4 separate regions of the Homo sapiens genome follow, and all the other regions are linked to region 1. Evidence: promoter capture Hi-C in 16 types of primary human blood cells and fetal thymus (Javierre and others, 2016). All regions are on one chromosome and are shown on one strand. The core of a region is centred on a gene start or on the middle of the fragment in contact, and the rest is flanking DNA. Distances in the headings are between cores, read along the strand shown. Region 1 holds the start of POLI (DNA polymerase iota). Region 2 overlaps MBD2 (methyl-CpG binding domain protein 2). Region 3 overlaps MBD2 (methyl-CpG binding domain protein 2). Region 4 overlaps STARD6 (StAR related lipid transfer domain containing 6).

Region 1 (7,452 bases), core at 2,370-4,869:
GGAGTCTCGCTCTGTTGCCCAGGCTGGAGTGCAGTGGCATAATCATACATGACTGAAGCTTCAAACTCCTGGCTTCAAGCAATCCTCCTGCCTCAGCCTCCTGAGTAGCTGGGATTACAGATGTGAGCCACCGTGTTGGCATGTCTTGACTTCTGAAGCTCTAAAATGCCTCCAGCTTCTTTATCCACTAGCCACGCTCTGTAAATCCATGCTCCTCCATAAATTTTGTTTGACCATAATATTATTTAATTAACTATGTCTATTCTGCCTTGAAATTGTTTTCTTCATTTGGCACTTAAATATACAGTTATGACCCAAGCTCAAGACAGCTATTTCCTGAAGTTATTCTAGATTAGATCCTATTAATTAAAACTGGGAGTAGGGATTTTTAGAATCAAACCCCAAAATCCTTTTTTCCTAAAACATTCCAAAACAATGAGACACGTTAGCTTATATAAATTTTATTTTCGTGCCTCTTAATACCTTTGAGGGATGTTTATTCTCCCCACTACCAGCCGTCTGGTGTTTGAAGCAGTGAGGAAAATGGTCAGAGCTAATTGATTTCCTATATGGAGAAAACATTATTAATGAATTCTTCACTGTGGAAAATTCTGAAAAGTGGATCTGCCATTACTAGATTCATAGCCTTGAGCAAGCATGTTAATCTCTCCTAGGCTATTTCATCTTTGGTAAAATGAGGATGCTGACATCTACCCTCTAGGGCTATTATATTGAATGAAATGACCTGTTTCAAGCTTTTAGCCCTGTGCTTGATATACAGGTGTTTTATGAGTGTCCTTTTTAGTGCTGCTTCTCTTCTTTATTTCCAGCACTTGCTAAATACTTTCTGGGGTCCAGGGCAAAATGAAAATATGGGGCTTCCTTGTTAAAAAATTAAGAATTTCAAGACAAGAGCAGAATATGAAATCAAGTGTTGAGCCCTATGTGACTGCCTACGTCACATACTCATCAAGCCAGCCCTGCTTGCTCCCCTAGGATTTCCAAGGGTCTACTTTTCTATCCTTTCACGAAATTAAAAGCCACTCTTCAAATTAAACAACGGATGGGGAAATAAATGCAACTAACTAAAGAGGGCTTGATTACGTGCATTGTTTTTTAACACTGTCTCACTTAAGCAACATGTTGAATGTTAGTGAGCCTAGGGCTCTTCTAGAGAGACCGTTTTCATCTGCCATAGTATTTTAGTGTTTATATCATTTTCTATCTGGAAGAATGAAAAGAAAAACAAACTTTGGTTGTCTATTAGTAATCAGACCACTGAATGTTGTCCAAGAAGCACTTAGTGGACAAAGAGACACTCAATTCAAAAGCTCTCTATGTAGGCTGGGTCGCGGTGGCTCATGCCTGTAGTCCTAACACTTTGGGAGGCCAAGGCGGGCGGATCACTTGAGGTCAGGAGTTGGAAACCAGCCTGGCCAACATGGTGAAACCCTGTCTCTACTGAAAATACAAAAATTAGCTGGGTATGGTGGCACACGCCTGTAATCACAGCTACTCAGGTGGCTGAGGCAGGAGAATTGTTTGAACCCAGGAGGCAGAGGTTGCAGTGAGCCCAGATCGCACCACTGCACTCCAACCTGGGAGACAGACTGAGACTCTGTCTCAAAATAAATAAATAAATAACTAAATAAAATGAAAAACCACCAAACAACTATCTAGACTTATCAAACAGCTTTCACAAAGATAGCAGCCTAGCTCTCTGAACAGGTAATTTATAACCTAGATAGCAGACTTTGAAAGAACTGGTCCAGACATCTAAGAATTAAATATGCAAAGAGGAAGATTTTGTTTCCAAACCACTGAGACCCAGCTCTGCTTGTTATTCCCTTTTCTTCATGGATGCATCAACATATCCTTTAAAGCAGGGGTCCCCAGTCCCCAGGCCATGGACCAGAACCAGTCCCTGGCCTGTTAAGAACCATGCCGCATAGCAGGAGGTGAGTAGCGGGCCCGGGAGTGCAGCTTCATCTGTATTCACAGCCACTCTCCACTACTGGCATGACTGCCTGAGCACTGCTTCTTGTCAGATCAGCAGCGGCATTAGATTCTCACAGGAGCCTGAACGCTACTGTGAACTCGCATGCGAGGGATCTAGGTTGCATGCTTCTTATGAGAATCTAATGCCTGATGATCTATCACTATCTCCCATCACCCCAGATGGGACAGTCTAGTTGCAGGAAAACACGCTCAGGGCTCCCACTGATTCTACCTCATTATCTATTAAAATGTAATAATAATAGAAATAAAGTGCACAACAAATGTAACGCACTTGGATCATCCCAAAACCATCCCCCTCCCTTCTGTCTGTGGAAAAATTGTCTTCCATGAAACCAGCCCCTGGTGCCAAAAAGGTTGGGAATGGCTGCTTTAAAGGGTTTCTCAAGGTTCTAATATTTTATTTGATAAGAAGTAGAATCATATAAAAAACCAAACATATGTGTTAATTTGGGTATTTATACAGATATAGTGTATATACATACATACAGGCATGGAGGAATTTCCAAATTTCCTCTATTGTAAAACATACACATACACACACCAACACACACATGCACACATGGTATCCTAATAGAAGGCAAGGAGAATAGACATTTACTGAGCACTTCCTATGTGCCACATGTTTTATATACATTAGGATATTACAGTATATGGTAGCTTTTATCCATTCATTCAATCTCAATACTTTTTTTTTTTTTTAAGAGTAGAGCAACTGAGGCTCACAGCAGTTATGTAACCTGCCCAAAGTCACACAGCATGATGGAGGGTCTGGATTGGAGATTTTGTCTGACTACAACACTCATGTATCAAATCCTATTCAGTTTTGATGTTAAAAATTCTGTGGTTGAATTCGTCACAGTGTCTTTAAATAAAACAACAACAAACAAAACACAGCAAACCTTAACATAGTTGCTAATCATATGAGTTTACAAGGCCACCTGTGTCTTTACTATCAGTTACACTCCTTCCCACCCCATCACATTAATCACTCAGGTCTAGGGATTTGCAAGTTTGCTAACAGCCGAATGGAACAAAGACAAAACGCTAAAATTTGTGATGTGGGCCTAACTCCAAAGCCTTCAAGAAAAAAAAAAAAAGGCCAGGCGCAGTGGCTCATGCCTGTGATCTCAACACTTTGGGAGGCCTAGGAGGGTGGATCACCTGAGGACAGGAGTTCGAAACCAGCCTGACCAACATGGTGAAACCTCGTCTCTACTAAATACAAAAAAATTAGCTGGGCGTGATGGCGCATGCCTGTTAATCCCAGCTACTTGGGAGGCTGAGGCAGGAGAATCGCTTGAATCCGGGAGGCAGAGGTTGCAGTGAGCCGGTATTGCGTCACTGTTGCCCACTCCAGCCTGAGCAACAAGAACGAAACTCCGTCTCAAAAAAAAAAAAAATAGCCATTTGTGCTTTCAATCTCTCCGCTTCCGGCCTCCACCCGGCGGGAAAAAACTCCCGCACGTGGGCCTCCACGATTCCTTGGCATGCGTGTCACTCTGGGCAACAGGCTGGTCGGCCACGACTGCGCAGGCGAGAGGCACAGAGCGACTGGAGACTGTAGTCCCCCGGTTTCCCTGGAGACCAGGCGGAAGCGGCCGGAAGTAGCGCTGCGGTTGGCAGCGGCGGGATGGAGAAGCTGGGGGTGGAGCCGGAGGAGGAAGGCGGCGGCGACGACGACGAGGAAGACGCCGAGGCCTGGGCCATGGAACTGGCGGACGTGGGGGCGGCAGCCAGCTCGCAGGGTGCGCCGCAGCCAGAGGAGCCAGCGGCCTCCTTGGGTGTAAATGAGAAGGGTGGGGCAGGCGGACGCTCGGGGCGGCGGCCACTGGGGCGCGACCGTCCCCGCCCCACTCGGCTCCTCTAAGAGAGGGCTGCCTCCCTCTGCCTTGTGTTACGCGGCGGGTACCTCTAGAGGAATGGCTTCACCCAGCAGGAGTAGGGTGGGGCGCGTCCACACTACAAATACGTGTCGAGGGTTTATCTGCGCCGTCCTTTCCTCTGTGAGGGGCGAGGTGGGGCGGGAATCCCTCAGCCAGCCCGACGAAAACTGCAGAGGCTTCTGGGCCTTTTAACTTTGGAGAAGTTGAGGACCTTGTCGCTCATTTGGCAGAAGGTGGGACCCGGATCTCAGTCCTGGCAGGAAGGGATGGCTCAGAACCTAGGCGGAGTCAGGTCCGCTGTGGTCACGTCTCCGGTGACCCACTTCCAGCTCTGGTCTTTACCTTGTACCGCCCACCTCAGGGCCTGGATGTAAAGGCACCGGTTCTCATTTCCTGCTGGTTTTGTTTCATTCATTAATTTAGAGACAAGGTCTCCCTGCAGCCTCGAACCCCTGGGCTCAAGTGATCCTCCGCCCCAGCCTCTCCGTCCCGAGTAGCTGGGACAGCAGGCACGTGCCACCACACCTGGCTGATTTTCAGATTTTTTTAGATCAGGTGTAGCTGTGTTGTCCAGGCTGGTCTCAAACTCCAGCCACAAGCGATCCTTCCACCTCAGCTTCGAAAAGTATTGGGATTACAGTAGTTAGCCATCGTGCCTGGCCTTTTAAATTTTGGAACTTTAGGTTTACCTGAAAGTTGCAGAGCTAGATCCCCCTAGTGTTAACATAAACTCAGTACATTTGTCAAAACTAGGAAATTAACATTGGTATAATACTATTAATTGAACTACACGCTTTATTAATATTCTACCAGTTTTTCTGCTAACGTTCATTTTCTGTTCCAGGATCCCAACCAGAATATTGTATTGTATTTTGCCTGTCTTGTTTTTAGCCAGTGTTGAGAGAAGGAGTCGCCTCTGTCATTCCCTCCCCGACAAATAATGACCTAACAACTTTTTAAAATCAAAGAACTATTCAGTCTTTCAATTTAGTGAATATTTATTGGTGGTCTGTTATGTCCTAGACACTGTTTTAGGCACTGGCGATTTAGCATTAAACCAGATAATCCTGCTGCCATGGGAGCTAAAAATAGCCCACACTTGTACCCACTGGTTGTCTTTTGCCATTTTGTATTTCAGTTTTTGTTGGTTTGTTTGTTTTAAATGTAAGGGCATGCTGCTTAGAATAATTTTCAAGCTGTGTGAAAATCAACGTCATTTCAACTTTTCTGCCCCTTCTGGTTTACACTAAGAGCTACTATAAACTTCCAGGTGATAGTATTAGCTCTTTCATCATCCATTATTTATCACATTTTTTCCCTTCAAACTTATTACTATCCTGAGAAAAACGCAGTGCACAAACAGTAATTAAGAGGACTGAAGACCCTACCCTAAGTGGAGTTTCATGTCTTTGTAATTTTTCGATGCTTTCACACATAATCCAGGAGAAAACACGTCACTCTGCATTCTTCCTTCACAGGTACCATGTTTTAAGGAACTGTCAGTTGCTCAGAGATAATAAGCAGCCTGAATTTCTTTTTATTTCTTTGCATATTGTGCAGGAGTTCATGATCAAGTGTTGCCCACACCAAATGCTTCATCCAGAGTCATAGTACATGTGGATCTGGATTGCTTTTATGCACAAGTAGAAATGATCTCAAATCCAGAGCTAAAAGACAAACCTTTAGGTAACTGTAGATTTATAATATTTTTAATTGCATAATGATTAGATTAGCAACTCATCATGCTCATTATATACTGATTTATTAACCTTATTAAGAAAGATTTTGGAAGCAGTTCTTACAGTGCTTTATAGCTGGTCATTTTTGCTTCACTACCAAGTGTAAATTTTACAAGCCTCATTTAATAAGTGGTGAATCTGAGAATAGTGTAGTCGGCAGAACAAATGAAGAGAAAGCAGAATAAATGTTACTTTTCTGTGCTGGTTAGTAGCTTAGTTTGCTGGTCAGATTTCTTTTTCTCACTATTTGAAATTTTACAGGCTTTGTTCTCAAAAACAGCCTCTTATTACATTTTAGTGGAAGTGTTCGTCTGTCCTCCCCTTTCTGAAATTATCTCTTAAATTGTGTAACATCTAACTAACTAGTTGGATTTTGAACATAAACCTAAGTATTATTAAGACAGCAAACTTGCCGTAAAAACATAAGCATCTTTTTAAATAAAAGCCAAAATAAATTTTATATTGGATATTTGTTGATATGCTAGCTTGTTTTATCATTTTTATTATTCATATTTTAAATTGAGAAAGATAAAGAGATTTTCTTTCATGCATGCAGGAAAGATTCCTCTTTTAGTGTAAGCATAAAGAACATTTTTGGTTCACTTGCTGCTACCCTCTTGTGCCCACTTTGGCTTAATAAATCCCAATCCAGCCTAGCTGATTTACTGAAGAACAAAGGGATGACTAGTTTTTGCTACGCCAAGGTGAGTCTAGGATCTTAAAACTTTTCTAAGGGTGCCAAGGAGTTAGAATCAGGGGACCTAAGTTTTTTCTCCTGAAGGCATTTCTGAGTAGTAGCACTGTGTTATAAGATGTTCTGTAGATAATGCTTAATAAAAAAACTGTAATTAAGTACGAATGAATGATTATTGGGAAGTGAGGGATATGAATGCTCCATGTTTTTGGGGGAAAACGAAAGTAGTCTTTCATTTTGTTTTTGTTGTTGTTGTTGAGAAGGGGTCTCACTCTGTAGCCCAAGCTGCAGTGCAGTGGTGCGATCTTGGCTTACTGCAAGCTTTGCCTCTGGGGCTCAGGTGATTCTCCTGCCTCAGCCTTCCAAGTAGCTGGGACTAGAGGTGTGCGCCACCATACTCGGTTAATTTTTTTGTATTTTTAGTAGAGACGGTTTCACCATGTTGCCCTGGGTGGTCTCGTATGCTTGAATTCAGGCGATCCACCTGCCTTGGCCTCCCAAAGTGCGGGGACTACAGACGTGAGCCACCGTGCCCGACCAGTAGTGACATGCAGTGATGAGGCCATATAATGTAATGCTCTATTAAAGGACTCCTTTTTTTAGTTAAGAAATCTAGCAATCTGATTTTTTATGTAGTTCACTGAGGAATCTCAAATTATTATTACCTTTGGTTCCATGATTATATTTTTGGGCATTACCTGATATATGAAAAAACTTTATATAAAAATAATGTTGTTTATGATATCAAAATTTTAGAAACAATGTCTAATAGAGAAGTGGACATAACCTTTTTTTTCTACATGTTTGTATTTTACATATTTTAGGTGAACATTACTCTTACAGTGGTAAGCAAGTAGTCAACTTGTATAAAAAAAGAGCAAATAATTTTTAGCAATCTTGAGTCACCAATAAACTAGAATTTTTTATGCAGTCTGTAAATAAATGATCATAATTTAATCATTTTTGATAGAACAGTTCAATAAGTAGTACATAACTGTTAGATCCCTAAAAATTGCTGTAGCCCAGCACTTGTTTTATATATTTTATATACATATTATATTTTATATTGCTTTATATTAGCAAGTTACGGAGAAGAGAAGTTGAGTTTTTCTAGCAG
Region 2 (7,452 bases), core at 1,390-3,889, 110 kb before region 1:
CCAGCTAATTTTTGTATTTTTAGTAGAGACAGGGTTTCGTCATGTTGGCCAGGCTGGTCTCAAACTCCTGACCTCAGGACATCCATCCACCTCAGCCTCCCAAAGTGCTGGGATTATAGGCGTGAGCCACCACACCCAGCCTGAAATGATTCTGTATGGTCAGGAAACTGTGACCCAGAAGTGAGTGCTGCCATGGATGGACATGTAAATGTAAGACATTATATGTATTATTGGATTTTGGTCTTGCTGTGGCATGAAAGATAAAGGCACTATGGAAGGGGATAATTGTGTTAACAATTCAACTCACCCTCCCTGCAATCCCTACCCTTAGCCTGTTCCCCTACCAAACAGAGTTCCCTCCCACCCAGCTCAAGTGATGGCTCAAGTGAAAACCCTGAGGCATCCTCGCCACTCTCTCACCCGCACTTCCAGGCAGTCACCTGGTCACGTGATTCTTTCTCCAGCTATATCTCAGATCTACCCATCTCTTCTTCTCCCAACCTATTGGCATGTCAACATCCTCCTAAAGCCACCATCATCTCTTGCGAGACTACCGCAGCAACATCCCAACTGGTCTCCTTGCTTCCAAGCTTTCCCTACTCCAATCCTTGTATTCATGCAGCAGCCATAGGGCTCTTGTAAAGAAGCAAATCTGATCATGCTACTGACTCTTCAGTGATTCCTGCTAATTTTCATGATCAATCTCAAGTGGTCATCAATCTCCCTAACAACCCACAGGTCCTACGTGACTAGGTTCACCACCCACACATTCCCCCCACCCCTCCCCAGACATACTGCATTCCAACCACGTGGATAATTTCTTCATTCCTTAAAGAAACCAAGTTTCTCCTTGCTGTTCCTTCTAATGGGAACACTTTTACCCAAACCTCTCCTGGCTCACTCCTATATATCTTTCAGGCTCAACATAAATGTCACTTTCTCAGAGAGGCTCTGTTGACCCTTGACATCATATTAGCACCCCATCCCTCCCTCTGTTTTGGCTTCAAAGGAAACTAGTAAATAATTGGTTTTGGGGTGCCAAAAAGGAAGACATGGCCTGCTGAAACAAAGCAGGATGGAAGCCGGGAAGCAAGACGTCACAGAAAGCCTTAAGATCTGCACGTGCTCCTCTGAAGACAAGGTATGCCCATGGCACAGAGCCATGAGCCTGGAATGTGAGTTTGAGATAAGATCAAAATGTGCATTTTTGTTGCTGTTTTTTGAGTCAGAGTCTTACTCCATCCCAGGCTGGAGTGTAGTGGCACAATCTCGGCTCACTGCAACCTCTGCCTCCCGGGTTCAAGCAATTCTCATGTCTCAGCCTCCCGAGTAGCTAGAATTACAAAATTCCAGCTATTCTACCACGCCCAGCTAATTTTTATATTTTTAGTAGAGACAAGGTTTCACCATGTTGGCCAAGCTAGTCTCAAACTCCTGACCTCAAGTGATCCGCCTGCCTTGGCATGCCAAAGCGCTGAGATTACAGGCATGAGCCACCAAACCCAGCCTAAAAATGTGTATTTTTTAAGGTAAAGTATTTATTATACTTTTTAGTGTCCTTCTTGTTCTCCCTGCATCAAATCTGTGCTAGGGAGAATCTAAGAAAAAGAAAGAGATTTTGCCTGCTTTGCCACCATAATTTTAAAGAGGAAGCAATATGCCCTGGATGCTACTGTGATGGAGATGACAGTCACCTTCTTCTTCTGGGGCCGTTCCTCCCTACATGACAAAGTCCTTTTCTTCTGCTGCTGCTCTTCTCTAGTGACACCTTAGAGGCTTTCCACCTGGTCTTAATGAAGGAGACTAGATCCCTTGCAAGTGACTGCAGGGGTGTGAATGTCCTCCCAGTATGAGAACAAAAGAATGCAATAACTTATATGGTCCTTCAATCCAGAGAGAAGAAACAAACAACAGCACATGCAGAACCCGAGCAGAGGAGTAGCTTTTTCATTCACTGCTGAGGAAGCTACAGGGAAAATAACAAGAAAATACAGCGACACCTTTTTTTTTTTTTCTGAGATGGGGTTTCACTCTGTCACCCAGGTTGGAGAACAGTAGCACAATTTTGGCTCACTGAAATTTCTGCCTCCCAGGCTCGAGTGATCCTCCCACCTCAGCCTCCTGAGTAGCTGGAACCACACACACACAACACCACACCCAGTTAATTTTTTGTATTTTGGGTAGAGATGGGGTTTTGCCATGTTGCTCAAGCTGGTCTCGAACTACTGAGCTCAACTGATCGCCCGCCTCAGCCACCCAAGTGCTGGGATTACAGGCAGAAGCACTATGTCCGGCCAAGAAAACACACCTTAAGTTCCAAGTCACTCTCTCTGGTGTCAGTTTACCTGATCATATTCTTAGGCTTCATCTCCACTGTCCATTTCAATATCCATCTCTTCTGTATCAGCAGCTCGCGACAAGATGTCTGCCATCAGTGCTTCTTCCAATTTCTTGCGTACTTGCTGTACTCGCTCTTCCTGTTTCCTTTTTAAAAACAGAATAAAAAGGCACTGAGAATTTGGCAAGTAATGACAATATGAATCTGCTACAGAAGTTCATCCTTACTTCAAAATAATTAAATTCCTAAGAAGAATAGACTTCCTTTTCAGATTTTTGCAGAGGTTGCTTCTACACACAAATCAAACCTCACCAATGAGCCTTGCCAAAAAGAGGAATGTTCACAGAGGCAGTTATCCCTCATCACACATGAAATTCTAGAAAGAGCAGATTGACGTCAGTGACCTTTTCTTCAACTTTGAAAATGTCAACTGTGTCAAGATTTGGGTTTATTCCTATAAGGACAATTAGAAATAACTTAGAAGCAGGAATAAAAGATGGAGGGAACATAAATAACAAAGGAAAAGTGACTTGTTCATAGAAGCACTGAGAAAGATGGAGGAAGCAGAGGCGTGATAAGCTGGGGTTTGATTGACATTCTGCGGCTAGGTTAGTTAGGAGAGAGCTCTCTCCTGGATTCTGAGGTCTGCAGGCAACAGGTCAGCATGAAGGAGCCAAGACTACATGATCCTGCACACCGAGGACAGACACTGAAAAGCCTCTCTTCAAATAAGAAAGTGAGTTACTTAAGAACATGCCATGAGTTTCTCTGTGTCTCGGTGATTACAAAGGAACCTCAAAAGTGAGGGTTAATAACTCCAAGTCATTAAAAAGGCTCTGAACCATTAGAGCACAGGAAGAAAGGCTATCAGTATACACTTACCTTTAAAAAGTAAAAAAAAAAAAAAAAGAAAAGAAAGTAGATCCCCCAGATGGTAAGAGATAAATTCCTAATACGTGTCTAGCAAACAAAGCTCGGTAAATAGAAATTGACATCCAGAACCAAGTAGAGAAGCAAAGGTTGAAGAAAGACAAGAGAAGAGAGAAGACTGGTAGGAAAAGATTCCAGTGGGAACAAGAACAGAAGGCAATGGCAGAGGAGGGAGGGTCAGCAGAACAGAAAAGGGGGCAAAGCTCTTGAGACCAGAAGAAAGGAGATAAGGAAAGATGCAGACAGGGAGATGAAGATGCAACAAGGAATATACAAAGGGTTCTACTGAAAAAAAAAAAGTAATTTTCTCTACCAATAACCGAGGAAGACAGATTGCAGCAATTCCCAAAACTGGGACAGCAGAGAGGTAGAGGAGCAATGCTATAGAAGATTGCCCTAAGGGTCCCTGAGTATTCACTCCATAGGGGCTCAACCAGCTGCCAAGTTATATTCAGTCTACTCAAGATCACACCCCTTTGACCAAATAAGACTATGTCCAAGGTAGTCAAGGTAACATATATGTACTGCTTCCCACAAAAACTTTGGATATCTTTATTAAACTCCAAAACACCACAAAGAGTTAAAAGGTATAGACTTCCACTTATTAAATGAATTTTCAAAAAGAGGGAAGCTGTCACTGGGTCAGTCTTAGCTCTATAGCCTCTGTCATATTAAAAGAAACTGGAATTTGACAGATTTTCATGTCATGGGGCAGGGTCAAGCAGAACACATTTGTTTATTTCTTATACAGTTAGTCTCACCTCTGGGTCAGTGACTCAAAGTTTATGACAAATGACATATTGGTTTCACTGGCAGTCTCTCACTAATAAGAGTACAAGAATCTTCACAGCTGTCCTAGAGTAACCTCATTAGGAAGAAGGAGAAAATGGAGCAAATGGCACCATATGCAGTAATTTGGATGGAGAATTTTATCTTAAACTCTAACATTTGCCATTGATTTTCTTCTCTCTTGAGCATTACTTTCCACATTTGTGAGAGCTGAAATTTAATCATTTGCCCATTGCTGTAGGCAGAATTGTAAGATGGTCCCCAACAGTCCCTCTTCCCCAAAACCACCCTTACGTGCACTCTTTATATAATTCTCTCCTCTTAAGGGTGAGCAGAACTTGTGAATATGATGGGATATCTCTCCATGATTAGGTTACCAATCAACTGATTTTGAGTCAATCGAGAGAGATTATTGTAGTGGGCCTGACCTAATAGGACCCCTTAGTGGAGCTGGGATCTTCCTGACAGAAGCATAAAGGGGCACACGGAGGAGCCACGAGACAAGGAACTACAGGCAGCTTCCAGGAGCTAAGACAGCCACCATCCCATAGCCAAGAAGAGAACAGGGGCCTTAGCCCTAAAACACAAGGCATGAATTCTGCAACCACCATATGAGCTTGAAAGAGAACCCCAAGCTTCAGAAGGGAACACAGTCCGGTGACACTTTTAAGACCCAAACACAGAAGCCAGTCATACCAGGCCCAGACTTCTGACCCCACAGAACTTTAAGCTAATAAATGGGTATTGTTTTAAGCTGCAAAGTTTGTGAGAATTTGTTACAAAGTATTAAAAAACGAAAGTACTCATCAATGCAAACATTATAAAATACGCTAAAAATACTTGAGATATATCTTGTTGGGGTCTTCAGCTGGAGGTTTAATGTAGACAGACTATTGGATACCCAATTAGGTAAAGAGTAACAGTTCCATTTGCAGTAATTTATTTTGAACATGTACTAATTCAACAAGGAGTATTTTCTTCCTAATTTCCGTCATGACAATTAAATCAAATGAGCAATTTGTTAGACAAATTTACCCAAAAAGGAAATCATCCAGAATTGGCTTTGAGATAGTTTCCTCAACTATCAAAAGAACTGGTGTTGAAGCCACCAACATTCCTGTGATATAACTCAGAGAACCTCCGTCAACACATATAAGGACCTGGCAGAATCCCTGCTGATTAATTCAGCATTCATCCCAAGATGGAAAAGAACTTGTCTCTGGAGTAATTTTCTTCCTCAAGGGTAAGAACAATCCAATGAGCAAGTTGATTCCTTTCATTGATTTTACATTTTGTTTTCTTAAAAAATAAAGTTTTTAAGAAACTTCATTCATATTCATATGCAATCAAGGCATATGAATACAACTTTGCACCACTTTTTATCTTTGCAAAATAATTACTTTAAGACCCAAGAAGGGCTTTCCCATTATAAACCTAGCTAGACTTACCCATTTAAAAAAACTTTCATGTCAACTTTGTATGGATTTTTTTAAAAAATACAAATATAGGCTGGGCGTGGTGGCTCACACCTGTAACACCTGTATCCCAGCACTTTGGAAGGCTGAGGCAGGCGGATCATGATGTCAGGAGTTCAAGACCAGCCTGGCCAATATGGTGAAACCCTGTCTCTACTAAAAATAAAAAAATTAGCTGGGTATAGTGGCGCTCGCCTGTAGTCCCAGCTACTCGGGCGGCTGAGGCAGGAGAATTGCTTGAACCCGGGAGGCAGAGGTTGCAGTGAGCTGAGTTTGTGCCACTCCACTCCAGCCTGGGCAACAGAGCAAAACTCTGTCTCAAAAAACAAACAAACAAAAGAACAAATATAAAACATCTTAAAATTATATGATTCGAAAGTGTCATCTGCTGATTTTGTCTAGGAATAATACTCAAATTAAACTGATTTACATTCAGGGGACAGAAATAGTGAAGTATACACAAGGTCATATTTTTAATATACTATAATATAATATAAATGCAATATAGTACAGTATCACTATAAAATAATGATATTGAGGTCATAAAACCCACATAAGAATTGCTCTGTGATCTTACTAACTGGAGTACTTTTGCTTTTCCTGTGCAATGGTTTGCTTCTACTTTCTGGGTTCTACCAATCTGAGCTGGATGTTTTCCTTTTACCATTTGCTGCTGAAACCCTAACTTGTGAGTCAGCCTTAGAAAGAGTGAAAGATGTCAGTAGACATAGTTTGTGTCTTGTCTCATTCCTGGCTCTGTTTTATTGCTTTACCTGTGGCTTCTTCTTTCTTACTTGCTTCTCTTCTTGCTCTACCGTGTCACAAGTAAGTTTAAGAGCAGCATCACTATCATCTGATTTAAAGAGAGATTGGTTTCCAGACAAACCAGTGAAGGAGGCAATCAGAAAAGGCATAACTGAGTGAAAGGGGTTCTGTATTTTTATTTTTCTAAGACAGGATCTAGCTCTGTCACCACGGCTGGAGTGCAGGGATGTGACGACAGCTCACTGGAGCCTCGACCTCCCATGCTCAAGCAGTCCTCCCACCTCAATCTCCCAAGTAGCTGGGACTACAGTTACATACTACCATGCCTCACTAATTGTTAAAAATTTTTTGTGGAGATGGGGTCTCACTGTGTTGCCCAGGCTGGTCTCAAACTCCTGGGCTCAAGCAATCCTCCCACCTCGGCCTCCCAAAGTGCTGGGATTATAGGCATGAGCCACTGTGTCTGGCAGAAAGAGGTTCTTTAGAATAGAAAGTCAGAATCCCAAATTGCAAAAGACACTGTAAAAATGATGCTTAGGGAATATAACTGATCTGGTGTCTGTCCTTTGGACAGGACCATGACGATACCCCTGGCATGCAGCATTTATACCCGTTTCAAGCATGTATTTGTTATAATGGTCTTTTTTCACCTTCTATCAGTTTCTGAAAAACTCTGTTAAAAAAGAAAAGTATAACTTTCTAGGTGATATATCACTTACTAGATATGCCACTGAACCTAATGAACAGTAAAAAATTTACCCAAACGTAAAAACCCAAGTTTATGAAGTCATGTTAAACTGCATTACCTGATGTCTTCATCTGTGACAATAAAAGCTTTGCAGAGGGGTTGAGATGTGTTAAGCCAAACAGCAGGGTTCTTTTCCACAGCAGCGGAGACTTGCCCTGTGATTGGCGCAGAGCTTGTGTGCAAAGCACTGGCAACAGCAGATAAAAGGGTCTCATCATTGCTACCTGGACCAACTCCTGCAATGAGAAACAAGTACTAGTTAAAGGAAATGTCTCAATGTGCTGAGCAAACTTTATGTGACATAAAACAACTGATATTTTTATATTCATTTGGGATCATATATGTAAAACTGACATAAGACAAAGCAGCAAAAGATAATATATCTACTTAATAGATATGACACACTA
Region 3 (7,452 bases), core at 1,980-4,479, 91 kb before region 1:
CAATAATGAAACTAAGGGAAGTTCATCTAAAATTCCTACATATCCAAACTCCTGTTTTTTATTGTTTATTTTAGACACCATAGCTGAATATTAACCCCCAAGCCAAGAAGCCTACAGAGCAACTTCAGACTGACTAGAAAAGCCAGGCGTGAAGCCTGAAGGTCTAGAGCCTCTATGAACATCGTCCTTTCCACCTCAGATCTCCTCCTATTTTAGAGAAATAAGAATCCTGCTGCCCTCCTAAGGTTATCCCACCACCTGTGCTCCTGATCACATCTTCTACCTCCTCCTCATCTTGCCCCATCAATTTGCCCAACTTCTCTTCTCACATTTTCCATTTTTCCCCTCCTCCCCTGGGACTTCTTCTTTTAAGTGACAGATGCACTTGAACACTGACAACTTAAAACATGTCCTTATTCACACTGCTTCCCCCTCAAGCCATCTTTATCTTCCCCTCCCACTAGTAGAGAGAACTTGTGTCTTATTTCCTCACATTCTATTCATTCTTTTCCTTCTAACCCAGGCTCTGCCCCTCTTATTTATATGAACACTGACCTTGCCCAAGGTCACAGTCACCTAATTACCAAATCCAATTCCTAGCTCAAGCCTCCCCTGTCCTACTTCACTGATACATTCGCCTGCCGTCAGGGGACTGAAGACATTTTGTGATGGTTCTCTGTATGTTTCTGTATTCTTTACAACTATTCAGCAACAAATTAAAATGTCTAACATTAATTGTCAAAGATTTAGACTACAAGCATTTCTTTTCTTTTTTCTAATGAAAAAAATTTAAATGCGTAAGATATGTGATATACTTTTTAAAGTATATGAGGACAACAGTGTTAATGCCTTATAAAACAGAAGAAGCAAAAGTTACCTTAAAAATCTCACCATTTTTAGAGTTTTATCTGCAATCTACATCTGTCAAGAGCATGATGCTAGACACAAAATTCGCACTCAGATGTTTGTGGGATGAATATTTGGCTAAGTAGAGGGAGGACAGGGTGATAGAAAGCGCTGGTTTGGCAGCTAAATGCTTTAATCCTGGCTCAAACACTAAATAGATTTGCTTGGGCAAAGTACTTAAACTCTTTGCATATATTTTCACTAGTAAACTAGAAGTCTTAGTAACTGTCAGATCTATCTCAGGTTATCAAAACACTAATAAAATATGAGAAAGTTCTTTGAGAATACAAATCTTTTATCAAATTGCTCAGAATTTTTTTCTAATGTTAGGATTCCATCAATTGAATGAATATCTTACTTTCATAAGACAGTTACTAAATCTAATCACATAATAGAGACTCTTGTCACATAATTGTCGATTAAAGCAAAATCCAGAAAGTGTGTACTTTCTAGTCACTCTCAAAAGGCTAAATATACAAGACACTGGGTTAGGGCTACGTGGATGAATGGTGTTTCCTGCCAAGAAGAAATTCACTGTCCAGTTTCTAAACTGCTTTATTTCCAATCAGCCCCATATAGTATCTGAATTGTCTAGTTATGGTCAGCAAAAACAACTTAAATACCATGGCCTGCAAACATCAAAGATCAAGTATGAGCTACCCTCTTATTTTGTCAGGGTGGCCTAAGAAGAAAGAGCTAGATAATGACAAGAAAATTATTGCATAAACCAAGGAGAAGGTTACTTCGTGTGGCTGTGCAAACTACAATGTGATCTCTCGTTAAGGCAAAAGATAATTTGGGCTAAACAGGATAGATGAATAAACCAAAGGGCAAATTTTAGGGCTGATGAAGACAGAGGTGCAGTAAGCGTTTGCTGTAGTTGTTTGACTAAATTTTGCCATGAATACTCTCTAACTTACACACAGTGGGTATACAATACTTGTCAAGTGCCTGAAAAGGTACAATTATCCTAAGATGACCATGGAATAAGAGTATCATTCGTGGTGCCTAGATTTTTCATGTGCTCCTCCCACAGAAAAAGCTACAATCATTTTCTTATTGATACGCAAGTTCATATAGGAACTTAGATGTGCTCCTTCACTACTTTTCACATATTTGTCACATGTCAGTATACTTGGAATTATTTGCTCAGTGTTGATTTTCAGATTCAAAGTTTTATGAAGATGGGGGCATGTTCGACTTTTTTGTTTATATAGCACCTGTTAATCAGCAATATCTGCTGTGAAATGAATAAACTGATGATTTCAAAACCCACTCGACTGCAGGAACTTTGATCTCTAATAGATAAGGATCTATCATTAGTTCTTTATAAGAAGATGTGCGCTTAAGAAAAGCTTTCTTGAAACTAATCTCGGTAGTGTAAATTAATTCCTTTTTTTTTTTTCGAGACGGAGTCTCGCTCTGTCGCCCTGGCTGGAGTGCAGTGGCGCGATCTCGGCTCACTGCAAGCTCCGCCTCCCGCGTTCACGCCATTCTCCTGCCTCGGCCTCCGGAGTAGCTGGGACTACAGGCGCCCGCCACCACGCCCGGCTAATTTTTTGTAATTTTAGTAGGGACGGGGGTTTCACTGTGTTAGCCAGGATGATCTCAATCTCCTGACTCGTTATCCGCCCGCCTCAGCCTCCCAAGATGCTGGGATTACAGGCGTGAGCCACTAAATTAATTCCTATTCTTTCTGTAGGACACTAACAGGCACTATTTTTTTTTTCCTCTCTTTTTTTTTTTTTTTTTTTTTTGAGACAGAGTATCACTCTGTTGCCCAAGCAGGAGTCAGGGATGCAGTGGGTATGATCATAGCTCGCTGCAACCTGCAACTCCGGGGCTCAAGGAATCCTCCTGCCTCAGCCACCCGAGTAACTGGAACTACAGGCCCACACCACTGCGCCAGCTAGTTTCTTAAAAAATTTCCTGTAGAGATGGAGTCTCACTTTCTTGGCAGGCTGCTCTCAAACTCATGGCCTCAAGCAGTCCTCCCATCTCAGCCTCCCAAAGTGCTTGGATTACAGGCATAAGCCACCATGCCCAGCCGTTCTTCCTTTTTAATACCAATACATCGAGAAATAGAAGTACATATGCACTATTTAGAATATGACATTAATCAACCACTAGAATTAAAATCAGGTTATAAATCCTCAAAATTACCAGAAGTATAAATTTAAATGAAAAACCCAGACCACAGAACAAAAACAGAAATACCAAAAAATAATCACAAAATATTAAAAACAGTATATAAACACAGTGACAGAATTAGGACTAAACATATCTGTAAAACAATAAATGTAAGGGTAATCTCACCAATTATGAAAAAGACCTTCAGATCATATTTTAAAACAAATTTAAAAACTCAACTGTATGTTTATGCAAGAGACAGATTTAAAAATAAAGAGACTCAGAAAGCTGGAAATAAAAAGAAAGTGCAAAGAAATAGCAAACAAATACAGGCATAAAAAAAAACAAAGATCCCAATAGTACTATAAGATTACTTCAAGGCAACAGTGTCAAATAAGACAAGGCATAATCCATTATAAAGAAATAACTTCTATAAAAGAAATGTTTTCTTATAAAAAGAAATTTGATAGAATTGGATTTGAATTTCAATGAGGAAAAGCTCATATACAGACTGAGTTCAAAACTTGTTAGGAAAGGTCTCCCCAATACCTCATTCCACTTTTCATTTGGATACTACCAATATCAGAGAAAAGAATATCACAATAGATACTGTAAACATTAAAAATATTACTAGAAATATATAAACAATCTTTTGCCACTAACTTTGAAAATTATAAAATGCACAAATTCCTAGAAAATCACATGAAAAAAACTAGAAAGAAAAAATGAATATTCTTCCATGTATCTATTTTAAAAATTGAAGCCTGAGCAACATAGTGAGACCCCATCCCTACAAAAAGTAACAAAATTTTTAAAAACTAGCCAGGCGTGGTGGTGTGCACCTGTAGTCCCAGCTACTCTAGAGGCTGAGGTGTGAGGCTCACTTGAGCCCAGGAGGGCAAGGCTGCAGTGAGCTGTGATCACACCATTACACTCCAGCCTGAGCGATACAGCGAGACCTTGTCTCAAAAACAAAGAAAAAAAATGAATCTGTAAGTTAAAACTTTTCCATAAAAAAAATAGGCTGAGATGACCTCCCAATTAATTATTCCAAAAAGAAAATTTTGTTTTTTAAAAATGCCAATTTTATAGAAACTCTTCCAGAGACTATAAGAAGGATCACCTCCAAGCTCATTTTATAAAGCCAGAAAACCTTGATACTAAAGCTTGAGAAGCAAATTACAAGAAAAGAAAAGTACAAGTCAATTTCAATCATGAATATAAAGGCAAAACATCCTAAACCTAATAACAGCAACTCTAAACAGTGATAACAATGATAATACATTACAACCACATTGGGCTTACTCCAGGAATTCTAGATCTGTTTAACATTCAAAAACATCAAACAGTGAAATTAATCACATAAACCAATCAATATGATACACTTTATTAACAGAATAAATAAACATTATTTGATCACTTAACTAGGTAGAGGAAAATAATTGATAGAATTTAATATCCATTCATAAGAAATATTCTTAGTAAAACAGAAAGAGAAGCAAATTTCCTTAATCTGACAAAGAATATTTACAAAAAAGCCTAGAGCAAGTATCACATTTAATGGAGAAACATTAAAAATGTTCCCTGACATCACGAATGAGACTAGAATATCTGTTACCATCAATTCTATTCAACATTGTATTGGAAGTTCTAACTAATAAAATAGAAAAAGGACAAAAAAATCAAAGGTTTAAATATTGTTAAGAAAGAAAGAAGGAAAGAAAGAAAAACTCTCATTGACAGATGACATGTTTATTCACATGTAAAGTCCAAAAGAATCATAGGTGACTTAATAATTTAGAAGGATAACTGAAATCAGAGTCAATACACAAAATCAATTCATTTCTAATATTAGCAAAAGATAATTAGAAAATAAAAATTTTATAAATGACACCATTTACAGTAACCTCAAATATCTAAGAATCAATTAAAGATATATAAGATCACTAGACTGAAAACTATAAAAGCTTACTGGAGGAATACCTAAGATTCGTGGACTGTAACACTTAATATTATAAAAATATTAATTCTCCCCACAGATTTACATCCTAGCAGCATAAAGAAAATATTTTTGATGAGCATGTGGCAGAAATTTTAAAATCAGAAAAGGTTAACTATAATTATATTAGAAAACCTAACATAGAGTTATTAAGATTAAAAACAACAAAGAATTATGACAGAAAGGAGTGGCAGGGCATTACTTACCCTACCCAGAAAAATTTCCATTCATAATAACGTAAACCCTGACTATTTAACCTATTTACCTAAAATTGTGATACATCTAGGTTGGGAGCATGACGGCAGAGAGAGAGAACTATGTAGTCACCTATCCTTGGGGAAAGTAAAGAAATAATGGCTAAAATTAACAAAGACAGCCTAACAAGTATATTAATTAGAAATATGAAGATAATTATAAAGAGATATGATAAGAATTAAGAATAAATGTTTCTGGCAGAGACTAGAAGACTTAACTGGAGTAGTAAACTACTGTTTTGAGAAGTAGTTTTTAAAAACACTATTCGATTTTTTCATCTGTATTCCTATGTTACTTAGAGAAATAAAAAAAGTTCACAGATCCTCCCTCATGACAGTTGTCATGTTTTTAAAATGAACTAGAAAAATACACAATTATTGGTAACTATGAACCAACAGCCTATGTATTCCTTAATTTTTTCTTTTTCTTTTTTTTTTTTTTTTTTTTTTTGAGACAGGGTCTCATTCTGGAGTGCAGTGGCCTGATCTCGGCTCACTGCAACCACTGCCTCCTGGGTTCAAGCAATTCTCATGCGTCAGCTTCCCAAGCTGGGACTACAGGCACGCGCCACCATGCTCGGCTAATTTTTGGCATTTTTAGTAGAGATGCGTTTTCACCATGTTGGCCAGGTTGGTTTTGAACTCCTGGCCTCAAGAAATGTGCCTGCCTCAGCCTCCCAAAGTGCTGGGATTACAGATGTTGAGCCACTGCATCTAGCCTCATTCCTTAATTTTTAAAAATTCACATGTAATGTCTCAATTGCAATTCTTCCCTGCATAAAGACTGACCATATCTCCAGACTCTCTTGGGCTCTAGCCCATCATCTTTTACTAGCTCAACATGCAACAATTACTTTAAGAGTATAAATTTTCTACCACTCAAATTCATATTTTATTATTTTTAAAAAATATTGAGCTACCCTTTATTATGTCCATATTTCTGTCAAAGATATCATTCTCCCACTTTATTCTAAGATTCTTCATATAGGCAGAGCTGATAAGTCAATAAATTTTGTCAATTATTTATTTTATTCTTTTTTTTAAGACGGATTCTTGCTCTGTCGCCCAGGCTGGAGTGCAGCGGTGCGATCTCGGCTCACTACAACCTCCACCTCCCAGGTTCAGGCAATTCTCTGCCTCAGCCTCCCAAGTAGCTGGGATTACAGGCACCTGCCACCACACCCAGCTAATTTTTTTTGTATTTTTAGTAGAGACAGGGTTTCGCATCTTGGCCAGGCTGGTCTTGAACTCCTGACCACGTGATCCACCCGCCTCGGCCTCCCAAAGTGCTGGGATTACAGGTGTGGGCCACTGTGCCCGGCCATCAGTTATTGTATGACCAGCATAAAACACACCTTATCGCTTATGCCCTAACTTCTGTAAGAGTTTCTTCAGTGATCTCCTAACCCTGTCAGTCCTCATACTATATACAATTGACAGACTTCTGTCTAGAATGTTCCCTCCATATTTCTCTGCTTTTGAAGACCACATGCTCTCTCACTCTTCTGGTGTTTTTTTCATTGCACTTAACACAACATGATACATTATCTATACATGTATTTGTCTGACTCACTTCCTATTCTCACACTAGATGGAAAGTTCCATGACAGCAGGGACTTTGTCTTGTTCACTGCAGTATCCCATTGTTTAGAAAAGTACAAGGTGAAGGCTCAATAAATAATTTTTGAATGAATGAATAATTTAATTCACTAATTCAACTAATTTACATATTAAGCACTTACATAATAGAGAAATTGGGGATAAAGCAATGAATAACCTAATATAGTTGTGATCAGAAAAGAAGAAAGAAGAAACACTAAGGAATGTCTCTAAATCCAAACTTGGTAAATCAGGGGTTTTCTGAACAGAAGTGACATCTAAGTTCTTGATGTCACTTGAGAGATGAGTAAGAAACAGCCGCTGAAGGAGAGAAAGGAAACAGCATGAAATCTGATCAAGGTATGTAAGGGTCAGGGGTAGGGGATGAATAGCATATGCAAAAACCTGAAAAATGTTCCATATGATTTGAATGTAGAACAAGAGAAGAAGGTGAGGCCAGAGAGGTAAGCAAAAGGGCTTGGCAGTCATGTTAAAGTGTTCTGAATTTACCCTAAAAGCTACCAGAAAGCACTGCAGGGTTTTCAGCAGTATAACACTATTAAC
Region 4 (7,452 bases), core at 3,712-6,211, 80 kb after region 1:
TCAATAAAAAAATAAATTAAAAAAAAAAAAAAAAAAGAAAATAAAACTACACCCCAGTATCTCTTATGTATATGCAAAAACCTTCAAGAAAGTACCAGCCTACCAAATCTAGCAATGTATAAAAAGGATTATAAAGCATGACCAAGTGGGATTTATCCCAGAATGCAAGGTTGGTTTACCATATGAATTATCAATTACTACAATACACAATTTTAATAGACTAAACAACAAAACCACATCATTTCAATAGATGTGGAAAAAGCATACGACAAAATCCAACACCCATTCAGGATAAAGCATTCATAGAATGAGGGGTATAGGGAAATGCCCTCAACTTGATAAAGGGCACCTATGAAAAATCCACTGCTAACATCAAACTTAATGGTGGAAAAACTAAATACTTTTCTATTAAGATCAGGAATAAGACAAGGATGTCCACTCTTGTCACTGCTATTAAACATTGTATTGGAGGTACTAGCCCAGGCAGTTAGGTTAGAAAAAGAAATAAAAGTCATCCAGATTGAAAAGGAAGAAGTAAAACTCTTCATGACATGATTTTATATATAGAAAAAAACAACAGAATCCACTAAAATAATACAACTAAGAAGTCCAGTAAAGCTTCAGGATACAAGATCAATATATAAAAATCAATTGTATTTCTATATGCTAGGATTAAAATTTTTTAAAAGTAATTCAGAAAACAATTCCATTTACAATAACATCAAAAAGAATAAAGCTTTGAAATAAATTTAACAAAAGTCATTGAATGGTGTTAGAGTAAAATAAAAAAAAATAGAACACGTTTAAGACATATACTGAAACTTATAAAACATTCTGAAAGAAGTTTGAGAAGCTCAAAATAAACAGAGAGACATCCTATGTTCATGTACTGGAAGACTTAATATTTTTAAAATGGCAATAATTCTCCAAATTGAACTACAGAATCAAAGCATCTTTGTCAAAATCCCAGCTGACTTTTTTTTGAGATGGGGTCTTGCTCTGTTGCTGAGGCTGGAGTGTCTAAAATTCATATGGAAATGCAAGGGAACCAGTATAGCCAAGATAGTCTTGAAAAACAGAAAAGTTGTAAGACTCACACTTCTTAATTTCAAAACTTACTAAAAGGCTATAGTAGTGAAGGTTGTGTGGTATTGGCATAAGGACAGACAGAGAGATCAACTGAATATAATTAAGCATCCAAAGGAAACTCCTAATGTATATGGTCAATTGATTTTTGACAAAGGAGCCCAGACAATGTAATGGGGAAAGAAGAATCTCCAACAAATAGTGCTGGGACAATTGGATATTTACATGCAAAGATTGAATTGGACTCCTGCCTCACACCATACAGAAAATTAACTCAAAGTGATCACAACAGACCTACATGTAAGAAATAAAACCATAAATTCTTAGGGATAAATCTTTGTGACCTTGGGTCAGCCAATTATTTCTTGGATTCAGCACCAGCAACACAAGTAACACAACAGAAGACGGATAAATTGAACTTCAAGAAAATTTTTAAAAATTGTGCTTCAAAGGATACCATCAAGAGAGTGAGAAGACAACCTACAGAATGGGAGAAAATAGTCGCAAATCATATATGTGATACTAAACTAGTATCCACAGTGTATAAATAACTCTTCCAACTCAACGATAAAAAGAAATTCAATTTTTTAAAAAAGAGTTTGGATAAATATTTATCTAAAGAAGATATATGAATGGTCAATATGCACGTAAGAAGAAGCTTATGGTCACAAGTCATTAAGGACATGTAAATCAAATCCACAATGAGATACCACTACATACCCAACTAGGATAGCTATAATCAAGAAGACAGATATGAAAAATGTTGCTGAAGAGGTGGAGAAATTGGAACCTACATACACTGCTGTTAGGAATATAAAACGGTGCGGCCAGTCTCTAAAATGATCTAGTAGTTCTTCAAAATATTAAACATAGAATTGCCATATGATCCAGCAATTCCAGTCCTAGATCTATAGCCAAGAGAAATAAAAATATATGTCCACACAAAAATTTGTACACAAATTTCATAACAGCATTATTTATAATACCTAAAAGATAGAAACTAAGTATATATTAACTGACGAATAGATAAAATGTGGCATATCCGTACCATAGAACATTATTCTTCAATAAAAAGAAATGAGGTACTGACACAAGCTACAACATGGGTAAACCTCAAAAACATGATAAAAGAATTTGTGAAAGAAGCAAGTCACAAAAGACCACATAGCATGTGATCTCCTTTATGACATGTCCAGAATAGGCAAATATAAAAGGCAGAAACTGTCACCTAGTCGCCTGGGGCTGGGGTGAATCGGATAATGGGAAGTAAATGCTAGTAGGCACAAGTTTCTTTTTTGGGGAGGAGAATGTTCTAAATGAAATTATGGTGATCCTGGTACAACTCTGTATATATACTAACAATCACTGAGTTGTACACTTAAAGTAGGTGAAATTTAGGGTACATAAATTATCTCAATAAAATTGTTAAAAATGAATTAGTTCCACAAGTCCTTTTTTTCTGAATTAGAGAATGACATTAAATTTATTTCTCATCTAATCTATTGCATAAAAACAATTACAACAAAAATTCTTAATGTCTCTTGAGTAGGTAGAGAACCTATATTTTATCTAAGTAACTTGCTCTAAACTGCAAACCAAAATAAGATGATTCAATAACGTATTTTATAAACTAGTCTTTAGCAATTATTTTGTTATCATATCTTTTATTCTCAACTTGTATTTACTCATTATAAATATATTTCCTAATTTCCTGCTCTGCCCACACCCAGCATTAACTATAAACCAGCTGATGTTAATGGTTGTGGAGTTATTGATGGATACTGATGTTACCAATTTTTTATTTGTGAAAGAGAATTGTGTGAAATGACCTAATATAAACCCCAAATTCTATTTTAAAAATAGTACTACAATATTCATCACTGAATAACATAACTTTTCATTCCTTAAGTTTTTCATAAAATGGAATGGCAGCAGAGTTTGAACAACGCTTTCCAAATTATTATATTAATAATATCTGAATTATTTTTGTAGTTAAGAAAAATGTTAAGTTTAGGAAGATATTGAACCAGGTTTATGAAGATACTAAACTGGGGTGTTTTTCATTGTTCCTCCAAATATATCTACACATTATGTAGAACCAGGATGAATCCTGAGCTGTTAGAACTCTTTATTTTGGTCACAGCAACTTTATTAATTACATTTGTTACTTTAAAAAATGTTTAACCTGTGATATGGGTTGGTTCTGTATCCCCACCCAAATCTCATCTTGAATTGTAGCTCTCATAATTCCCAGGTGTTGTAGGAGAGACCTGGTGGAAGATAATTGAATCATGGAGGCGGTTTCCCCCATATTGTTCTCGTGGTAGTGAATAAGTCTCATGAGATCTGATGTTTTTTATAAGGGGTTTCCCTTTTCACTTGTCTCTCAATTCTCTCTTGTCTGCTGCCATGTAAGAATGACTTTCATCTTCTGCTATGATTGTGAGACCTCCCCAGCTACATGGAACTGAGTCCATTAAACCTCTTTCTTTTGTAAACTGCCCAGTCTCAGGTATGTCTTTATCAGCAGCGTGAAAATGAACTAATACAACCTGTTTAAACCTGAATGCTTTAATTTATAAAACTTACAAACTGTCTCACATGTCTGCCTCAGAAGGTAGAATAGAGGATTAAATGTAGTGGTGGTAATGATGGTGGTAATAAGTAGTAACGACAATGGAGGAGAAAGTAGTATCCTAAACAAGCATGAAATGCCTAAAGGCAGAAAAGGTACATTCTGCCAGAATCCATCTCTGGATAATCTGCCTTCATTATTCCACAGATACATCTTGACAGTTTTGATGAGGTCAGAGAGAATAATGATTAAGAAAGTACAGCCTTTGAGGTAAAGTCTTGGTGTCTAAGTTTTTGTCTCACTAACACTAGTTAGGTGACTTGGAGATAGTAACTTACATAGGCCCTTATTCATTTGTAAAATGGGGATAATAACAGTGCTTACATTGTGGGAAATATGAGAAATATATTTAGAAAATGAAAGAAAAGTATTTAGCATGGTGCCTGACATATAGTAGGACATTACTGTTCACTGCTTCTAACACTGAGAGAAATGTGTAGACCTATGTGCTGGTAGGTCTGTATTTCATCCCTTAAGAGCAGAAAGGAACGAAATTCCAACCAAAGAACTGCTTCTCTTCCAGGCAAATGCTTAAAGCTAACCACAAAAGGCCCTTTTTGAGTAGCAAATTATTAAGAAAAGGCATAAGTGTTGAAAAATTATCTTGAGTTTATTTTTTTGTACTGCAGTTATAAGATATATAACTTCCCATTTGGTAGCCAATATAATATAACTGAAGTCCATAAATTCATTCAATATTTATTAAGTGTCTTGGTGAGAGACACTGTTCTTGTGCTAGGGATACTGCAATGAATGCAGTGATTTATTTCTAGTCTGGTGCCTATTAAAGTTAGTATCCTCATCAAGTTTATATTCTAATATGAGAGACATATAATACGTAAGAAAACAAAGAAGATAAATTTCATATAGTGAAGTGCTATGAAGAAGATAATAGCAGAACAATGTAGTAAATAGAGGTTTAGTGTGTGTATTTGGGAACTTTGGCCACGTGGCTAGGAAGGTCATTCTGAAGAGGAGATAATGAAACTGACATCTTGAACATAAAAATGACATTAGCCTTGGAAACATTTGGGGGAATAGCTTGCCAGGCAAGAGGAGAGCAACTAAGAAGGCTCTGAGATGGGTTTAAGTTCAGTGCATTCAAACAACAGAAGTCCATTGTGGCTGTGACACAGGGACAATGAAGAGAAGTGGTCAGAAATGAGGTCAGAGAGGTAAGTGGGGCCCAGATAGTTACCTGCACATCACGATAAAATGTTTGGACTTATTTCAATAGGTTTTGGGGAAACAGGTGGTTTTTGGCTACATGGATAAATTCTGTGGTGGTAATTTCTTGAGATTTTGGTGCACCCATCACCTGAGCAGTGTACACTGTACCCAATGTGTAGTCTTTTATCCATCCTCCTCCTCCCACCCTTTCCCTGGAGTCCACAAAGTCCATTATATCATTCTTATGCCTTTGTGTTCTCATAGCTTAGCTTTCATTTATAGGTGAGAAAAGATGATGTTTGGTTTTCCATTCCTGAGTTACTTCACTTAGAATAATGGTCTCCAACTCCATTCAGGTTGCTGTGAATGCTATTATTTTGTTGCTTTTTATAACTGAGTAGTGTTCCATAGTTTATATATACCACATTTTCTTTATCCACTCATTGGTTCCATATAATTGCAATTGCAAATTGTGCTCCTATAAGCATGTGTGTGCATGTGTCTTTTTCATATAATGACTTCTTTTCCTCTGGATACATACCCAGTAGTGGGGTTGCTGGATCAAATTGCAGTTCTACTCTTAGTTCTTTAAGGAATCTCCATGCTGTTTTCCATAGTGGTTGTACTGATTTACCTTCCCACCAACAGTGTAAAAGTGTTCCCTTTTCACCACATCCATGCCAAAATGTATTATTTTTTGATTTTTAAATTATGGCCATTCTTGCAGGGGTAAGATGGTATCTCACTCTGGTTTTAATTTTCACTCCCTTGATAATTAGTGATGTTGAGCATTTTTTCATGTTTGTTGGCCATTTGTATATCTTCTTTTGAGAATTGTCTACGCATGTCCTTTGCCTACTTTTTGATGGGATTATTTGTTTTTTTCTTACTGATTTGCTTGAGTTCTTATAGATTCTGGGTATTAGTCCTTTGCTGCATGCATAGTTTGTGAATATTTTCTCCCATTCTGTGGGTTACCTGTTTCCTCTGCCGATTATTTCTTTTACGATGCAGAAGGCTTTTAGTTTAATTAGGTCCCAACTATTTATTTTTGGTTTTGTTGCATTTGCTTTTGAGTTCTTCGTCATGAACTCTTTGCCTAAGCCAATGTCTAGAAGAGTTTTCCCAATGTTATTTTCTAGAGTTTTTATGGTTTCAGGTCTTAGATTTAAGTCTTTGATCCATCTTGAGTACATTTTTGTAAAAGGTAAGAGATGAAGATCCAGTTTCATTCTTCTACATGTAGCTTGCCAATTATCCCAGCACCATTTGTTGAATAGGGTGTCCTTTCCCCACTTTATGTTTTTGTTTACTTTGTTGTGGATCAGTTGGCTGTGGGTATTTGGCTTTATTTCTGGGTTCTCTATTCTGTTCCATTGATCTACGTGCCTGTTTTTATACTAGTCCCATGGTGTTTGGTAACTAGAGCCTTGTAGAATAGTTTGAAGTTGGGTAATGTGGTGCCTCCAGATTTATTCTTTTTGCTTAGTTTTGCTTTGGCTATGTGGACTGTTTTTTGGTTCCATACGAATTTTAGGATTGTTTTTTCTAGTTCTGTGAAGAAGGATGATGGGAGTTTGATGGGAATTGCATTGAATCTGTAGATTGTTTTGGCAGTAGGGTCATTTTCACAATACTGATTCTACTCATCCATGAGCATGGGATGTGTTTCCATTTGTTTGTGTCAGTGATTTCTTTCAGCAGTGTTTTGCAGTTTCCCTTGTAGAGATCTCTCACCATCTTGCTTAGATATATTCTTAAGTATTTCTTTTTTTGCAGTGGTTGAAAAAGGGGTTGAATTCTTTATTTCATTCTCAGCTTGGTCACTGTTGCTGCATAGCAGTGCTACTGATTTGTGTACACTGACTTTATCCTGAAACTTTATTCACTTATCAGATCTAGGAACTTTTTGGATGAGTCATTAGGGTTTTATAGGTATACAATCATATCACTGATCAACAGTGACAGTCTGTCTTCCTCTTTACCCATCTGCATGATTGCTCTGGCTAGGACTTCCAGTACTATGTTGAATAGAAGTGGTGAAAATGGGCATCCTTTTCCCGTTCCAGTTTTTAGGAGGAATGCTTTCAACTTTTCCCTGTTCAGCATAATGTTGGCTGTGGGTTTGTTATAGATGGCTTTTACTTCTTTGAGGTAAGTTCCTTCTATGCCTATTTTGTTGAGGGTTTTAGTCAAAAAGAGATGCTGGATTTTGTCCAGTGCTTTTTCTGCATCTATTGAGATGATCAAAATTTTTGTTTTTAATTTTGGTTATGTGATCTATCACATTTATTGACTTGGGTATGTTAAACCATCCCCACATCCTGGGTATGAAATGCATTTGATCATGGTATATATTATCTTTTTGATATACTGTTGGATTAGGTTAGCTAGTATTTTGTTGAGGATTTTTGCATTTGTGTTAATCAGGGATATTGGTCCGTTTTTTTTTTTTTTTTTTTTTTAATGTCCTTTACTGGTTTTGTTATTAGGGTGATACTGGCCTCATAGAATGGAGGATTCCTTCTTTCTCTATCTTTTGGAATAGTTTCAGTAAGATC

Evidence for each region. Contacts are between HindIII fragments. The CHiCAGO score rates a contact against its expected background, and 5 or more counts as called.
Region 2: a contact is called between a fragment that was not itself captured here and the fragment with the promoter of POLI in region 1, in 1 of 17 cell types (monocytes). The highest score is 6.3, in monocytes.
Region 3: a contact is called between a fragment that was not itself captured here and the fragment with the promoter of POLI in region 1, in 5 of 17 cell types (monocytes, activated CD4 T cells, neutrophils and 2 more). The highest score is 6.7, in monocytes.
Region 4: a fragment that was not itself captured here is called in contact with the fragment with the promoter of POLI in region 1 in 2 of 17 cell types (monocytes and neutrophils); the score reaches 7.1 in monocytes.

The regions. Positions count from the first base shown.
Region 1 is chr18:54,265,898-54,273,349 of GRCh38, forward strand. It overlaps POLI (DNA polymerase iota), which reads left to right and starts at 3,620. Exons shown (of 10, transcript NM_007195.3): 1 at 3,620-3,764; 2 at 5,463-5,588. The coding sequence starts at 3,650. LOC124904307 (a long non-coding RNA gene) reads right to left here and starts at 4,008. Exons shown (of 2, transcript XR_007066379.1): 1 at 3,929-4,008. RefSeq lists enhancers at 2,982-3,131, 3,392-3,521, 4,052-4,101 and a silencer at 3,732-3,981. The HindIII fragment of the contact is 5,901 bases long and covers 754-6,654 here.
Region 2 is chr18:54,157,420-54,164,871 of GRCh38, forward strand. MBD2 (methyl-CpG binding domain protein 2) reads right to left here. Exons shown (of 7, transcript NM_003927.5): 5 at 7,104-7,281; 6 at 2,346-2,484. The coding sequence ends at 2,358. Among named protein-coding and RNA genes, the nearest start is that of SNORA37, 61 kb to the right of the region's middle. The HindIII fragment of the contact is 4,102 bases long and covers 589-4,690 here.
Region 3 is chr18:54,175,187-54,182,638 of GRCh38, forward strand. All of the region lies in intron 3 of MBD2 (methyl-CpG binding domain protein 2), which reads right to left. Among named protein-coding and RNA genes, the nearest start is that of SNORA37, 43 kb to the right of the region's middle. The HindIII fragment of the contact is 1,941 bases long and covers 2,260-4,200 here.
Region 4 is chr18:54,344,566-54,352,017 of GRCh38, forward strand. The region is part of intron 4 of STARD6 (StAR related lipid transfer domain containing 6); the gene reads right to left. Among named protein-coding and RNA genes, the nearest start is that of STARD6, 9.6 kb to the right of the region's middle. The HindIII fragment of the contact is 6,439 bases long and covers 1,743-7,452 here.